Linked DNA regions of Homo sapiens: region 1 is linked to region 2. Evidence: promoter capture Hi-C in 16 types of primary human blood cells and fetal thymus (Javierre and others, 2016). All regions are on one chromosome and are shown on one strand. Each heading gives the region's core, a stretch centred on a gene start or on the middle of the fragment in contact. The rest is flanking DNA. Distances are from core to core; before and after follow the strand shown. Region 1 has its middle 16 kb from the start of VWA5B2. Region 2 holds the start of HTR3C (5-hydroxytryptamine receptor 3C).

Region 1 (2,833 bases), core at 177-2,676, 160 kb after region 2:
GTCAGGTTCTGTTTTGGTCTCTTTGTTCTTACACCCGTACCATACTGTTTTGATTACTGTAGATTAGAATCTTTTTTTTTTTTTTTTAAGACAGAGTTTCACTCGTCTCCCAGGCTGGAGTGCAGTGACACGATCTCAGCTCACAGCAACCTCTGCCTCCCAGGTTCAAGCAATTCTCCTGCCTCAGCCTCCTGAGTAGCTGGGATACAGGTAAGCGCCACCAAACTCGGCTAAATTTTTTTGCATTTTTTAGTAGAGATGGGGTTTCACTATGTTAGCTAGGCTGGTCTTGAACCCCTGACCTCAAGCAATCCGCCCACCTTGGCATCCCAAAATGCTGGGATTACAGGTCTGAGTCACTGCGCACGGACTGATTACTGTAGTCTTTAGTCTTGTAGTATGTCTTGATATCTGGTAGAGCAAGCCTCATTCTTTTTTTTTTTTTTTTTTTTTTTTTGGAGTTGGAGTCTTACTCTGTTGCCCAGGCTGCAGCGCAGTGGCACAATCTGGGCTCACTGCAACCTCTGCCTCCCAGATTCAAGTGATCCTCCTGCCTCAGCCTTCTGAGTAGCTGGGACTACAGGCACATGCTGCCTGTGCCACCACGCTCGGCTAATTTTTTGTATTTTTAGTATAGATGGGGTTTCACCATGTTGGCCAGGCTGGTCTTGAACTCCTGACCTCAGGTGATCCACCCACCTCGGCCTCCCAAAGTGCTGGGATTACAGGTGTGAGCCACTACACCCTGCCCAAGCCCCACTCTTTACTCTTCTTTTTATATATTGACTTTGCTAATTTTGAAAATGAACTTCTGCAAATAAATACTAAAGTAAGTTTAAGTTTTTCAGAAAATTCCCATGGATTTTAAGTGGAATTGCATTGAATACACACATTAACTGGGGAGAACACTAATATCATTTGTTATTAAGCCATTCTGTCCAAGATAATGAAATATCTCTCTATTTTATTTGGATCATCTTCTGTGCCCTTTGAGTTTTTTTCCCCCATAACACTTCTATTGGACTTTGAGTTTTAATGTTTTCTTCAGAGTTTGCTGTGTTTTGTTTTGCTTGAGATGGAGTCTTGGCTCTGTTGCCCAGGCTGGAGTGCAGCGGTGTGATCTCGGCTCACTGCAGCCTCCGCCTCCCGGGTTCAAGCAATTCTCAGCCTCCCAAGTAGCTGGGATTACAGGCACCACCAGCACACCTGACTAGTTTTTGTAGTTTTCAGTACAGATGGGGTTTCACCATATTGGTCAGGCTGGTTTCGAACTCCTAACCTCAGGTGATCCACCCGCCTTGGCCTCCCGAAGTGCTGGGATTACAGACATGAGCCACCACGCCTGGCTATAGAGGTCTTATATTAATTAAGTTCCTAGATACTTTATAGTTTTTGTCATTATTGTGAATGGCTTCTTTGATTGTCATTTTCTAGTTGGTTACACCTGGTATAGAGATATGCTATTGAGGCCGGGCGCAGTGGCTCACACCTGTAATCCCAGCACTTTGGAAGACCAAGGCGGGTGGATTACTTGAGGCCAGGAGTCCAAGACCAGCCTGACTAACATCGTGAAACTCTGTCTCTACTAAAAATACAAAAATTAGCAAGGTCTGCTGGCAGGCGTCTATAATCCCAGCTATTTGGGAGACTGAGACAGGAGAATTGCTTGAACCCAGGAGGCAGAGGTTGCAGTAAGCCAAGATCAGACCACTGCACTCCAGCCTGGGCAAGAGAGCAAGACTCCATCTCAAAAAAAAAAAAATAGATACGCTATTGATTTTTGTAGATCTTCTATCTGGCTACCTTGGTGAATTCTCTTACTAATTACAACAGCTTCTTGACTCTATTGGTATTTTGAAGTATACCACATAAATAATTATGGTGTTATGTATATGAATACATACCTATAAATATTTTTACATGTGGCTATCTATATCTACAGTAAGCTACACATGGATTCATACTGATGACTCCAACTCCAATCCATTACTGCATGGATCATTCTGACCTTTCCCCCTTGCTCACCTATATGTTCTCATTCTTCTTTTTTTTTTTTTTTTTTTTGAGATGGAGTCTTGCTCTGCCACCCAGGCTGGAGTGCAGTGAGACGATCTTGGCTCACTGCAAGCTCTGCCTTCCGGATTCATGCCATTCTCCTGCCTCAGTCTCCTGAGTAGCTGGGACTACAGGCGCCCGCCACCATGCCTGGCTAATTTTTTGTATTTTTAGTAGAGACGGGGGTTTCACCGTGTTAGCCAGGATGGTCTCGATCTCCTGACCTCGTGATCCGCCCACCTCAGCCTCCGAAAGGCTGGGATTAGAGGCGTGAACCACTGCGCCCAGCCTATGCTCTCATTCTAACAGCAAAAACCTGCCTCTTGGCTAGGCACAGTGGCTCATGCCTGTAATCACAGCACTTTGAGAGGCCAAGGAGAGCAGATCACTTGAGGTCAGGAGATCGAGACCATCCTGGCTAACATGGTGAAACCCCGTCTCTACTAAAAATACAAAAAATTAGCCAGGCATGGTGGCGGGTGCCTGTAGTCCCAGCTATTCGGGAGGCTGAGGCAGGAGAATCACTTGAAACCAGGAGGTGGAGGTTGCAATGAGCTGAGACCTCATCACTGCACTCCAGCCTGGGTGACAGAGCAAGACTCCGTCTCAAAAAAAAAAAAAAAAAAAAAAAAAATCTACCTCCCACCATGCACCACTGGAACTTAATTGTTCAAATCCAGGATACACGTGGAGTGATCTCAACAATTGTTAACCTATTTCCTCAAGGAAACAGCTGTATCCACAAGAGTACAGTACTTGTGTACAGTTCATTTTACCT
Region 2 (2,945 bases), core at 127-2,626:
TTCTTTCCCTTCAACCTCTGGCTCAAGTTGGCCAAGTTTCCAAGTCAGGGAAGAAATTACTTGCAGAGGTGGTAGGTCTGAAGGACTGCAGCTACCGCAAACCTCAAATGGAATCCACTGCAGCCCTCTCCTGTGCCTTCCTACTTTGGGCCTCTAAGTCATTCCTGCATTTCTCAGCACTTTCTACTTAGGGCTGTCATGATCACTAATTCTGAACAAAGTTTTTTTTGTATTCTACATCTGGCCCTTCACCCTTTCTGCAAGGAAAAACTGTCCAAGTCTTTCTGGAAACGTAGCTAAGATACTTGAAATAAAAATGCTCCAATTCATTCATTTGAGCCAATTTTTTTTAATAGGAATGTGGTGACATAAGACATAATATTAACACATGCCAATGATATTGATGTTAGCTGAGATTACTAGTTTACAATAATGCTATATATTAACACTATTGACAGCACAAAGTGTTACTATCTTAATTTTATGAGTTCTATTATCATGTAATCAGTGCATAGCCTAAAAATTATACGGAGAACATTGGTTTGGAGAGAATAAATCAGAAAGGCAGAGACGCTGTAAAGAGGAAATCTAGTTAGGGGCTACTGGAAAAGCATAGACACTAGATGATGAAGGTATGAACCAAGCTTTATAATTTGGCATTTGGAATAATTCCAATGTCAACAAAAGCTGTAAGATACTTTGGTAAGGGGGCCGGGCGCGGTGGCTCACGCCTGTAATCCCAGCGTTTTGGGAGGCTGAGGTGGGTGGATCACGAGGTCAGGAAATCGAAACCATCCTGGCTATCACAGCGAAACCCCGTCTCTACTAAAAATACAAAAAATTAGGCGGGTGTGGTGGCACACACCTGTAGTCCCAGCTACTCAGGAGGCTGAGGCAGGCAGGAGAATCGCTTGAACCAGGCAGGTGGAGGTTGCAGTGAGCCAAGATCGTGCCACTGCACTCCAGCCTGGGTGACAGAGAGAGACTCTGTCTCAAAAAAAAAAAAAAAGATACTTTGGTATTCATAACCAAATCACTAAGTATTGCACCTGGTCTTGGTGCACACAGATTCCCTGGTCTTGGAAGCACACAATCCTAATTTCCCCAGCCTACATTCTCTCATTAAGGCACGTTATTTTGTTTTGGATCTCAGCACACAGCTGCCAAATAGAATGCTTTTCCCCTAGTGTCCGCCCAATTTCCTGCCTGCCTGGAGCCCGGAAGGTGCATCTGGGCAGAGCCAATGCAGGACACTTGGCTGGGACCTCTCTGGTCACAGGCTGTCACAGGGAGTGGTCACTTGCCATGAGTAGTATTCAAAACCAGCAACCAGGGTGTGGTCTGAGCTCCTTTAAGCTCCAGGGTTTGGGAGCTCCTGGTGAATCCCCAGAGAAGAGTCCAGAAAGAAGAATGGAAGGAGGGTGGCCTGCAAGGCAGAGTGCCCTCCTCTGCCTCACTGTCAGTCTTCTGCTTCAAGGTAAGATGGGACGAGAACAGGGAAGACCAGAGTGTGGTTCCGAGGGACACCTGGACTCACCTCTAGCACTTGGAGGGCATTCAGAATTAATGTGTTAAATATTTCTTCCATAATGTCTGTGTCCTGATTTCCTTTTGGTGACAGATAGAAAGACAGTTCACTGATGAGTGCACACAGACTTTCTCTGTTCCTGCCTGCACAGGGATCTATCAAACTGTCTCATTTCACCACTTCTCCAATTCCACCTTTTCACTGACTTCTGATGCTCCACTACCACACCCTTCTTCCCCCTCTCCTTGTCTCTGTTTCTCCTGACATGATATCTATGAGAAGAGTAGCCACTGATTTTAAACATGCCCTGAGGGAGGGGACAATCTGAGGTGGAAATGAGCAGATATTTTGCTTCCATGAGGTAATATTTGTTCCCAATCTGGACACATACCTTAAATATTATGGAAAGAGATGGAGATAGAGAGAAGGAGGCAGAGAAAAGGACCATATAATGATGGCGATGGAGCAAAGATGCCACTCAGGTACTACCCAGATGACTCCCTGGCCATGGCCGAGAGACAATATCTGCACCGGCCTCACTTTGTGGTTTTGTTGTTGTTGTTGTTTGTTTTTTGACATGAAGTGTCGCTCTGTCGCCCAGGCTGGAGTGCAGTGGCACGATCTTGGCTCACTGCAACCTCCGCCTCTCGGGTTTGAGCGATTCTCCTGCCTCAGCTTCCTGAGTAGTTGGGATTACAGGCGAGCGCCACTATGCCCAGCTAATTTTTGTATTTTTAGTAGAGATGGGGTTTCACCATGTCGGCCAGGATGGTCTCGATCTCTCGACCTTGTGATCCGCCCACCTCGGCCTCCCAAAGTGCTGGGATTACAGGCGTGAGTCACCGCGCCCGGCACACCGGCCTCACTTTGTGACTGAACAAATGCTGTATGCTCAGTGATGTCACCTCATGATCCCGATGCTAGAAATAACCCACGAGACAACTGAGGTCACTAAATCTGAGAAGAGCAAAATAAATGCATAGCACCAAGGTAAGCACCCAGTCAGATACCTACCGTGTTTCTCATATCTACCTGGTGAGTGCAGTTGTGTAAAATGTCTCTTATCCTCTTGATAAATCAGTTCTTGCCTTCAGTAGACTTAAGATCCTAAGAGTTAGAGAGAGAAATACATTAGCATCGATTTTTAGGTGACTTGGACCACAAGTTTTGGGCAGTTCTACTGCTAGGTGAGCCAAGAGTCTTGTGATGGGTACATTAAAGGACTCCTGGAAGTAGCTGCCATTGCACTTAGGCCAAGTTTTCATACAGATTTGGGCAAACTTTGCATGAGGATGAAGCAATGGGAATGAGAATAGAGCCCTGACCTCAGCTCACCACATCCACTTCCACCATTTGCCTACCAGCCCAGCCCATCCTCCCCAACCATGGCCTTGGGGAGTCTTGGCATGGGAAGGAG

What was found. Contacts are between HindIII fragments. The CHiCAGO score rates a contact against its expected background, and 5 or more counts as called.
Region 1: a fragment that was not itself captured here is called in contact with the fragment with the promoter of HTR3C in region 2 in 1 of 17 cell types (M1 macrophages); the score reaches 7.1 in M1 macrophages.

What each region holds. Positions count from the first base shown.
Region 1 is chr3:184,211,964-184,214,796 of GRCh38, forward strand. No RefSeq gene overlaps it. Among named protein-coding and RNA genes, the nearest start is that of VWA5B2, 16 kb to the right of the region's middle. The HindIII fragment of the contact is 3,345 bases long and covers 1-2,833 here.
Region 2 is chr3:184,051,671-184,054,615 of GRCh38, forward strand. It overlaps HTR3C (5-hydroxytryptamine receptor 3C), which reads left to right and starts at 1,377. Exons shown (of 9, transcript NM_130770.3): 1 at 1,377-1,477. The coding sequence starts at 1,411. RefSeq lists an enhancer at 1,932-2,945. The HindIII fragment of the contact is 4,846 bases long and covers 643-2,945 here.